2 separate regions of the Homo sapiens genome follow, and region 1 is linked to region 2. Evidence: promoter capture Hi-C in 16 types of primary human blood cells and fetal thymus (Javierre and others, 2016). All regions are on one chromosome and are shown on one strand. The core of a region is centred on a gene start or on the middle of the fragment in contact, and the rest is flanking DNA. Distances in the headings are between cores, read along the strand shown.

Region 1 (5,406 bases), core at 623-3,122, 520 kb after region 2:
CAATTGTAAGCCAAAAGAACAAAGCTGGAGGCAGCACGCTAACTGACTTCAAACTATACTACAAGGCTGCAGTAACCAAAACAGCATGGTACTGGTACCAAAACAGATATATAGACCAATGGAGCAGAACAGAGGCCTCAGAAATAACATCACACATCTACAACCATCTGATCTTTGACAAACCTAACAAAAACAAGCAATGGGGAAAGGATTCCCTATTTAATAAATGGTGTTGGGAAAACTGGCTAGCAATTATGCAGAAAACTGAAACTGGTTCCCTTCCTTATACCTTACACAAAAATTAACTCAAGATGGATTAAAGACTTAAATGTTAGACCTAAAACCACAAAAACCCCAGAAGAAAACCTAGGCAATACCATTCAGGACAAAGGCATGGGCAAAGACTTCAATACTAAAACATCAAAATCAATGGCAACAAAAGCCAAAATTGACAAATGGGACCTAATTAAACTAAAGAGCTTCTGCACAGCAAAAGAAACTATCATCAGAGTGAACAGGGAACCTACAGAATGGGAGAAAATTTTTGCAGTCTATCCATTTGACAAAAGGCTAATATCCAGAATCTACAAAGAACTCAAACAAATTTACAAGAAAAAAAAAAAAACCCCAACAAAAAGTGGGCAAAGGATATGAAGACACTTCTCAAAAGAAGACATTTATGCGGCCAAGAAACATATGAAAAAAGCTCATCATCACTGGTCATTAGAGAAATGCAAATCAAAACTACAATGAGATACCATCTCATGCCAGTTAGAATGGCAATCATTAAAAAATCAGGAAACAACAGATGCTGGAGAGGATGTAGAGAAATGGGAATGTTTTCACACTGTTGGTGGGAGTGTAAACTAGTTCAACCATTGTGGAATACAGTGTGGCGATTCCTCAAGGATCTAGAACTAGAAATACCATTTGACCCAGCAATCCCATTACTGGTTATATACCCAAAGGATTATAAATCATGCTGCTATAAAGACACATGCACACTTATGTTTATTGCAGCACTGTTCACAATAGCAAAGACTTGGAACCAACCCAAATGCCCATCAATGATACACTGGATAAAGAAAATGTGGCATATATATACCATGGAATACCATGCAGCCATAAAAAAGGATGAGTTCATGTCCTTTGCAGGGACATGGATGAAGCTGGAAACCATCATTCTCAGCAAACTAACACAAGAACAGAAAGCCAAACAACGCATGTTCTCACTCATAGGTGGGAACTGAACAATGAGAACACATGGACACAGGTAGGGGAACATCATACACTGGGGTATGTCACGGGGTGGGGGGCAAGGGGAGGGATAGCATTAGGAGAAATATCTAATGTAGATGACAAGTTAATAGGTGCAGCACACCAACATGGCATATGTATACATATGTAACAAACCTGCACATTGTGCACATGTACCCTAGAACTTAAAGTATAATTTTAAAAAATCAGTTTTCTTTTGGCTTTTTCTTAGCTTTATACTTAAATATTTTTTTCTAATGTAATTAGAGTGGAATTGTTTTTTGAATTTTATTTTTGGATTACTCATAGCTAGTATATACAATTGCAATTGAATTTTATATTTTGATTTTGTATCTTTTCACCTTGCTGAACTCATTTATTTGTTCTAGTAGATTTTAGGAAATTCCTTACAGACTTTTACATATAAGTTTATGAAAGATGCAATAAAGGACTTTATCTTCTTTTCCAAAAAAAAAAAAAATTTGTGCACTTAGCTCAGAAAAAAGTAAACAAAAAATTAACACAGTTACAAATTAGGATTTTTAGTGCAGGGGAAGAAGTTGTCACCACGCCTCTAAGAGGAAGGGGAAGTCTCAGAAGTATTTTCAGTTTATGACAGAAGGGCAAAAACATTGACTGCCTCAAGGTCTCAAGCACCAGTCTTCACCGCGGAAAGCATGTTGTGGCTGTTCCAATCGCTCCTGTTTGTCTTCTGCTTTGGCCCAGGTAAATGTCAATCCAGATCGGTGTAGTCACTGAGTGACTCCCTGGTTTTGTGCAGCTTGCTCAACCTAAATCGTCTGTATACAGTTGTCTGGCTCTCTGCCAAGGGATTGGGGCGGGAAAGGGGACGCTGGCAGTGTTACCTGATATACTACTACCTCCTCTCAACTTTGGATGCGATAAGCCTGAGATGGTTGTCGGTGAACAATTTCAATTGTGTCTGCATGTAAGAAAGTTATTTGCTGGGGCAGAGGAAATAAGCTTTTGAAGACAAGACTGTTTGTGGTTTATGACCAGCATCTTGTGTTATAAAGAGTACCAAGACCAAGAAAATGGGCCCTCATACCAATGTATCTACTATCGTACTGTGAACCTCAGGGAGGTTACTTATCCTTCCTGAACCTCACTATCCTCATCTAAATTATTAAAAACCTATTATTCAGTTGAGCCAAATTTTCTGGGCCCAACCAAACACACCAAAAATAACCCTCTCACCTTTTGCTCATTGCAAAAAAAAAGGTTTCCATCTCTCCCCTCCTTTAGTGCAAATTAGGGCTAGCTAGTCCAGCAATGCATTATATATGGCAGTGAGAAAAGAATGAACTGATCCAGCTGGCTTCTTGTTTCCTGCTGTCCATTATATGGAGAAGATGAAGATTCATATCACATTTGGGGAACTACAAGTGGTCCACGGGAGACAAAGTGTAGCATTCAGGCAGAGATAGTCCAGGAGACCAATGGAAATCTAGTCCAGAGCTAGCCCAGGGTAGCAGATAAAAGTAGGAAGCATTCACTGAGCACTTATTGTATTTCAAGTATTGTGCCAGGTGCTGTACACACGTTATGAGTCTCATGAGAATTCTATGAATTTATACTATTAATATCTCCATTTTAAAATGAAGAACTGAGGTGAACTTAATTTAAATAATTTGCCCAAATTTCATTAGCCAGCATGCGACAAGCTCTTGTAATAGTTATGAGAAAAAATAACAGTTCAACAAGTGTGGCAGCAGCATAAGAGAAAGAAGAGACTGAAGCAAGAGATCCCATCAATATGGAGTTAAGTAGAGTAATTGGTAATTGGAATGAGAAAGGAATAAATATTCATTGAGCACCTACTGAATGCTTGGCACTCTTCTAGTTTGCATGAATACATCATGAACAAAGCAAGCAAAAATTCCTGCCCTCATGGAGTTAACATTTTAGCAGGAGACAAACTGTAAAAAAAGATAAACAAGTAAAATAGTGTATTGGGTAGGAAGAAATAAATCAAGAAGGAAAGGGAGAGATGAAATATGGTAAAGACGGCAGTGAAATTTCAGACAGGATAGCCAAAGAAAGTGACAAAATTGGAAGGTGGAGAGCAGCCACAGGAGGAAGGTGAGTTCAATTTTGGACCTACTGATTTTAGGATGTCAGTGTGCTATACATGAGGAAGTTACGTGGAGGATCCTGGGAACTTAGGACTAGGGGTAGAGCTGAGGCTAGAGACTTAAAAATCAATGGCATAGAGATATGTTAAGCTGAGGAGAAAACTGGAATGAGAACAGAACTTTGGGAAATATATATAAAATGCAGAAAGAGAGAGAATTCTTTCCTTCATTCAAGAGCCACTTCCTGATCTAGGAGCAGAATCTTGAGTTTTTGCTTCATTTTTACCACCCTGCAAAATTATTTCCACCTCTAGAATAAAATATTCTGAATGTCCTTGTGTTAAAACTCCTCTTCTTCTCCCTATTTCCATGAATACTTCTTATAATGACCCTATGAAATATACAGTGCTCCAATCTCCACTTCACAGATGGGGAAAGAAGGCACAGAACACTAAAGTAACTTGCTCACTGCCCCACATTTATGGGGGAAATGGGTATAGAAAGAGAAACACATTTGAATGAGTTTACAGGAGGCAGATGCAGGTGTTCTGAGACCCAGGAGGAGAGAAGTGGCTGCTAGAATTGGAAATCAGGAAGCTTGGCTCCGGAGTCTGTGCTCATAGCCACTTCACTATGCTACTTAGCTTACACACAGTCATACATTCACACAAATGTGTACATAATTAGAAAATGTGAGGCCAGCAAAAAAAATAAGCAGGGCACCTTCATAGAGAAAAACACGGGGACCTGCTTTGGACGGAGTGATGAAGAAAGGACTTCCTGGAAAAGTAACATCTCATCTGATATTTAAAGGGTGTGAAAAGTTAAACAGGAAAAGTCAAATGAAGAAGATTTTAGGGCAGAGGGAATCATGTGTGAAAAGCCGTGATGCAGGAAAGAGCCTGGAGTGATTTAGGAAGGGAAAGAAGACCACTGTTGCAAAAATGTGGGGCAAATGAAATTAATCTTTGAAACAACCATGAAAAACAATGACTCATGCCAGCCTACATTCTTTGAAGTGGGTTGGGCACTATCCTGACTCCTTTTAGAAAATTTAGTGGAAAAGACAAACCATATTGAAAAATAATCCCATTTCCTTTAACTCAAGCCCTGGGTGGCAAAACTAACAGAACAAAACAATAATTGTAAATAAAATCAAGCATCATGACTTCCTAGAGAAAATAAATCTCGTTTGTTTCTTCATTTTGATTTTTATAGATGGAAAGTTGGAAATTTGTCAAACTTAAATGTGCATATAAATTACTTGGGGGAATCTTATTAAAATGCTGATTGGGGAATAGGGACTGAGATTCTGCATTTCTAAGAGGCTCCCAGGTGACACCAATGCTGCCTGTCCATGGACCACACTAAGCAGCAAGGTTCTAAATTCCAATGGACTTCAGTCATACTGGGATTGTAGGGAGGAAGAAATAGAAACTAACTTTGAGTGTGTTTGCAGGAAGCAGATATAGGTATTCTGAGGTCCAGGAGAGAGCAGTGGTTGGAAATGTAAGTAAAGCAAACACATGAGGGCTGATTCTGAGGTTGAGTCAAAATGTGCAATGCTCTTCTGTGAAGAGATTGTGACCTGATGGCCCCCGAGCAGTGTTATCTACTTTTTACCAACCGTCCACATCTTTCAAATGTTTATTGTGCTCAACAGGCAGAGAGCTGTTTTATATTTTTTCATTATCCTCAGACACGTGTTTTTCCACCTCTCAGAATCTGCAATCTCCAATGTGACCTCCAGGTGTTCATGCCTCTGTTTTTGGTCCCTTAACCCAGATTCAGCTTTGATTGTTTCTCTGTTCACACTCAGACATTTTTTATTAAGGTGAAATTCTTGTAACAGGATGTAATAATTTTAAAGTGACATTTTGTACATTTTGTGAAACCACCACTTCTATTATTCTAAAACATTTTCATCACCCCAAAAGGAAACCCTGTACCCACTAAGCAGTCATTTCCCATTCTCCCCTCCCCCCCAGCCCCTGGCAAATACCGATCTGCTTTCTGTCTCTGTGGGTTTACCTATTCTGGATAATTTCATATA
Region 2 (5,706 bases), core at 1-2,500:
TTTCCGAGGCTTATCCATTGAAAATTTTCCTTGGATAGGAAAGGTTTGGAGGACCTTATGGGTAGAGAATTTCCAAAAATCTTGCCCCTTTTGTGTTGGGATTATCTTATTGCTTTGTACTGTGTAGCTGTTTCTTTCTGGAGGCATGTCTGCCCAGCTCTTTGTTTTTCCTGCCCTCTGGCTGGGTGTCAGGGTCCTAAGGCAGAGCTTGTAGGTGGATTCTTCCCCCTTTGTCTCTTCTTCAGAACCCTGTTTTTTTTTTTTTTACCCCTTCTTGCTCAGGCTTAGTTGATTTGGAGTTGTCATAGCAACATTTTAGCAACAGTGTTGTTCTGCAGGAAGGCTTGATGAATAAAATAGAGAATGCTTGAAGAGGATCCACTTGGGCTTTAGGGTTTCTAACAGATTATATAAATCTGGATACCCCAAAACAAGAGTCCTGTCAGTAGAATGGGGCCCAAATGCCAAGTCTAGTCTTTGTGGTCAGGGATATTCTTCCAGTGGTAGTGGGCTTCAGATTTCCTCTTCCTAGGTTTGAAAACAGAAATGTCTTGATGGACAACATGTGGCTGAGAAACTGGAAGAAGCATCAGTGTCCATGACACTGTATTTTTTGATGGTGGGGCCAATACATGGCCCTTCCTGATTCCCATGAAGCTGCCATCATGGCAGGTCATAATAGCTTTAATGATCCATTTAGAGATGTGTTGTTGGCTGGGTGCGGTGGCTCATGCCTGTAATCCAAGCACTTTGGGAGGCCGAGGCAGGCGGATCACCTGAGGTCAGGAGTTCCAGACCAGCCTGGCCAATATGGTAAAACCCCATCTCTACTGAAAATACAAAAATTAGCTGGGCGTGGTGGTGGGCACCTATAATCCCAGCTATTCAGGAGGCTGAGGCAGGAGAATCACTTGAACCCAGGAGATGGAGGTTGTAAGCCGAGATTGTGCCACTGCACTCCAGCCTGGGTGACAGAGCAAGATTCTGTCTCAGAAAAAAAAAAAAAAAAAAGAAAGAAATGTGTTGTTTCGGCCAGGTGCAGTGGCTCACACCTGTAATCCCAGCACTTTGGGAGGCTGCCGAGGTGGACAGATCATGCTCTCAGGAGTTCGAGACCAGCCGGGCCAACATGGTGAAACCCCGTCTCTACTAAAAATACAAAAATTAGCCAGGCGTGGTGGTGTGCACCTGTAATCCCAGCTACTCCGGAGGCTGAGGCAGGAGAATCACTTGAACCTGGGAGGCAGAGGTTGCAGTGAGCTGAGATCGCGCCACTGCACTCCAGCCTGGGTGACAGAGAGAGACTCTGTCTCAAAAAAAAAAAAAAAAAAAAAGTGTTGTTTCTGTCTTCCAGTATAATTATCCACTCTCCACCAGGAGTTGGAGTGATAATGGAGGGATGGGGAACACTATTTGTAGCCTTGCTTTTTCAATCACTGTAGGCCAGTCCTCAACATCAGTATGGTGGAGGCTGATTGTCCCCTGCAGATGACTGGGTTATTTTCCTGGCTATGTGTTCATGGAACCTAAGTTCTAGAACCAGAGATACTGTTCTGTTTCCTAAACTCATTGCAAACTTCATGATTTCTACCAGGACTTAGCACTCAGGCCTGTGAATCAGGAGATACAAAGACCTCCAAAAAAGGACCAGTTCCTCGGATGTGCCCCCTCACAGAGAGATGAAGGGGTGAGTGAAGAAGAGGTAGGGTCTGGGATGAAAGATGGGTGGCCTGGAAGAATGCAAAATGACCAAGAGCACTGCCTCTGGAGTCAGGCAGACCTGGATTCAGGTTCTACTCTATCACTTACTGTGTGATTTGGTTTCTCTATCTATAAAATGGAAGTAGTGCTATCTATCTCGTGGTGCTGTTTTTAGTACTAAATAAGATTACATGTAATGTACTTAGCTTAGTGCTTATGTACATAGTAAACAGTAAACACTAGTTGTTATTCTAACCTAACCCAGCTTCTGTTGGGAATGCCAATGAGTTTGCAGCCATATGTTACTGGGCCAGTGAGCTTCTCATTGACTTCTTCTCATACTCTTCCTTTTGTCCTTTCACCACAAACAGGCAGCAGAAAACAGCTGAAACGGAAGAGGGGACAGTGCAGATTCAGGAAGGTGAGTGCTAGAAACAGAACCAAGACTAAGAACCCATCATGGCCTCCCTTCCTTCCCCACCAGACCATCTCCTGTGCATCCTCCTCCTTCCGTGACATGCAAATGGAACGGGGGTAGAAAGGCAGTTAACTCACAGACTTTTCCTTTGTTCTTTTAATTCAGGTGCAGTGGCTACTGGGGAAGACCCAACCAGTGTGGCTATTGCCAGCATCCAGTCAGCTGCCACCTTCCCTGACCCCAACGTCAAGTACGTCTTCCGAACTGAGAATGGGGGCCAGGTAAGGGAGGGGGCCAGGTGGCTGCAGGTGTTATCTGGGGTTGGGATTGAGGGAGGTAATTGAACATGTCTTGGGGAGACCTGGCTTGGAGGATGAGTTGAAAGAGTGGACTGTTGCAGGGGAGGGAGGTGCTAATACTGGAGTAGAGACTGGTGTGAGGTTAGATGTATGCTGAAACCTCTGTGTGGGGAAAGAAGGGAGAATGGCTGAATCCATGTCTCTGAAGGACTTTGTTTTGGGGCCCTATCCAAGGGAAGCTTTATGAGGGGCCCTAGGATTCCCAACACTTAATCTTTTCTTCTCTCTTCACTCCCTCTGCCTTCCTCTACACTTCTAGGTGATGTACAGGGTGATCCAGGTGTCTGAGGGGCAGCTGGATGGCCAAACTGAGGGAACTGGCGCCATCAGTGGCTACCCTGCCACTCAATCCATGACCCAGGTACAGGGTATGGGCTGGGGAGGTCACTAGAGTTCTGAGAAGTAAGATGAAGAAGGGAATCAGTAGGATGGGGGTGAAGCTAGGAACAGTGAGGCATCTAAGGCTGCCTTGTCCCAAAGCACTAGGCTCTCCTTTTCTGGATGTTTCTCTCTCTCTCTCTCTCTCTCTCCACCCTACCTACCACCCCAACGGATAGAAGCTGCAGAGTGGTGTAGTGGGAAGAAGTTTTTGACTGTTACCAGAATCAGTTTTCTTGCTCCCCTTCCCAGGCGGTGATCCAGGGTGCTTTCACCAGTGATGATGCAGTTGACACGGAGGGGACAGCTGCTGAGACGCACTATACTTACTTCCCCAGCACGGCAGTGGGAGATGGGGCAGGGGGTACCACATCGGGGAGTACAGCTGCTGTTGTTACTACCCAGGGCTCAGAGGCACTGCTGGGGCAGGCGACCCCTCCTGGCACTGGTGAGATATTGCATGAGGATGCTGGCTGAAAGGGCTAGAATAGGCTGTGGGACATGACTGGTAGGCAGTGAGCCTTCACTCATGACTCTTAGTGATCATTAAGACCTGGACAGGCAGTGAGTCTGGGGCTGCTCTTCTATTAGCATGTTCTTTTTAGAGGAGGGGACCAGGGTCTTCACCTCAGGGCTTGGTGAGGTTCCTACCCATGTCCTGACAGAACCTACCCTGCATCTTCACAGGTCAATTCTTTGTGATGATGTCACCACAAGAAGTACTGCAGGGAGGAAGCCAGCGCTCAATTGCCCCTAGGACTCACCCTTATTCCCCGTGAGTGACCCTTGTTTCTTCTCAGATTCCGTAAGTGGTTTTTTTTTTTTTTTTTTTTTTTTGAGACAGAGTCTTGCTCTGTCACCCAGGCTGGAGTGCAGTGGCATGATCTCAGCTCACTGCAACCTCTGCTTCCAGGGTTCAAGCGTTTCTCATGCCTCAGCCTCCTGAGTAGCTGGAACTACAGACATGTACCACCACCCCTGGCTAATTTTTGTATCTTTAGTAGAGACAGGGTTTCACCATGTTGGCCAGGCTGGTCTCGAACTCCTGACCTCAAGTGATCCGCCTGCCTCGGCCTCCCAAAGTGCTGGGATTACAGGTGTGAGACACCACACCTAGCTACCATAAGTGGTCCTAATACCTGCTAAATCTTGTATAATTCCTTAACCCCAAACTTCAATCATGTATTTTGTCTTCTTACTCTGGCCACCCTGGGCTCTGTTGTCAGGAAGTCAGAAGCTCCCCGGACGACTCGGGATGAGAAACGCAGGGCTCAGCATAATGAAGGTAGGTATGATCTGGGTGGAGCTAGAAGCTGTCTGGTGTGATCTCAGCAGTGATGTCTGAGGGGAGGAGGGATTAGGTAATTTTACCCTGGGACTTGTGGCGAGTTTTCACTGAGTCACCTTGTCCTCCACTTTGCCCCACAGTGGAGCGTCGCCGCCGAGACAAGATCAACAACTGGATCGTGCAGCTCTCCAAGATAATCCCAGACTGCTCTATGGAGAGCACCAAGTCTGGCCAGGTCATGGAAAGACCCTGGTAGTGGGCAGGATGCCTGAATTCTGCCTCCTGGTATTGTTTCCAGAAATGGTAGAGAGAGGGGCACACATGACAGTAGTCTTATCTCTCCCTGAGGTTCCTGTATCCCTGGGAGATATTATACCACCTTCCTTAGATGAAAATGAGGTCCAAAGTGTGAACCTACTTTTGGAAAGCAAGCTGGGTATCTGAAATCCTAGTTCTCATTTTGTTGACCTTATCTTGCAGAGTAAAGGTGGGATTCTATCCAAAGCTTGTGATTATATCCAGGAGCTTCGGCAGAGTAACCACCGCTTGTCTGAAGAACTGCAGGGACTTGACCAACTGCAGCTGGACAATGACGTGCTTCGACAACAGGTCAGACTCCTACCCCCAGTGCAGCCCTTCTCAGTTCTGCTAGCCACTGACCCAGTTTGACACCCTCTACTTTGTTCTCCATGGAGAAGGCTTCATCTTTTCCCCCTCACCAGTGGATGTCTGAATACATTCAGGGGCTTGGAAGTGCCAGCTTTACTACCCATTCCCTTTACTGCCTCCTTCCCATGTCAGGTGGAAGATCTTAAAAACAAGAATCTGCTGCTTCGAGCTCAGTTGCGGCACCACGGATTAGAGGTCGTCATCAAGAATGACAGCAACTAACTATGGGGATTCAGGGGCTTTGGGCCCAAGAACTGCAGATAGCCCAGGAGCAACAGCCTAATCCCGTGCCCCTTTCCTTCACTGCCCCACTTCTGGCATGGGACAGGGGGAAGTTCAGAAGGTGTGTCCTTGAACTGAGGCCCTGTGATATGGCGGCCTGCAGTGGTGTGAAACACACAATGTGGACGTGCACTGACAGCCTTGCCCACCCCCACCATGCAGCCCCTGGGCCCTTGTGCTCCTCTCGCACAATGCATGTGCTGTCTCCATGCTGGATACTGGACACACTAAACTCTGGGGCTTGTCCTGTGCTTGCTTAGAGTGCCCAGCAGAGGTTTGCTGACAGGTGATGCTCTGGCTTGCCCCAGGACTCTGGCACTTCCATTGGTTCTTCCTTTCCCTGGAGCTGAGGTTTAGATGTGCAACCTGTGGCTCAGGGGAGCAAGCTTACACAAGAAGTGAGGGAAGGATGTTTAGCAGTGGCTGGTGCCCATGAAGAGGAGATTGGCCAGTGAGAAGCTGAGGCCTATGCAGACATCTCTGGAGCCAGAGAGAACAACAGGCAGGGGCCCACTTGGGGCCTTCCCCCTTGTGGGGGTCGTTTTTTTTTTTTCTTTTCTTTTTTTTTTTTTTTTTTTTTTTTTTTTAAGATAAAATTGTTCAAAGCCACA

What was found. Contacts are between HindIII fragments. The CHiCAGO score rates a contact against its expected background, and 5 or more counts as called.
Region 1: a contact is called between the fragment with the promoter of SLAMF6 here and a fragment that was not itself captured in region 2, in 1 of 17 cell types (total B cells). The highest score is 5.4, in total B cells.

What each region holds. Positions count from the first base shown.
Region 1 is chr1:160,519,721-160,525,126 of GRCh38, reverse strand. SLAMF6 (SLAM family member 6) reads left to right here and starts at 1,872. Exons shown (of 8, transcript NM_001184714.2): 1 at 1,872-1,983. The coding sequence starts at 1,935. RefSeq lists an enhancer at 2,038-2,087. The HindIII fragment of the contact is 3,138 bases long and covers 1-2,243 here.
Region 2 is chr1:161,039,249-161,044,954 of GRCh38, reverse strand. USF1 (upstream transcription factor 1) reads left to right here. Exons shown (of 11, transcript NM_007122.5): 2 at 1,595-1,687; 3 at 2,073-2,122; 4 at 2,285-2,400; 5 at 2,738-2,839; 6 at 3,109-3,304; 7 at 3,544-3,631; 8 at 4,083-4,141; 9 at 4,285-4,379; 10 at 4,625-4,753; 11 at 4,946-5,704. The coding sequence starts at 1,680. The coding sequence ends at 5,035. Among named protein-coding and RNA genes, the nearest start is that of TSTD1, 3.1 kb to the right of the region's middle. RefSeq lists enhancers at 1-178, 3,039-3,198. The HindIII fragment of the contact is 2,818 bases long and covers 1-2,659 here.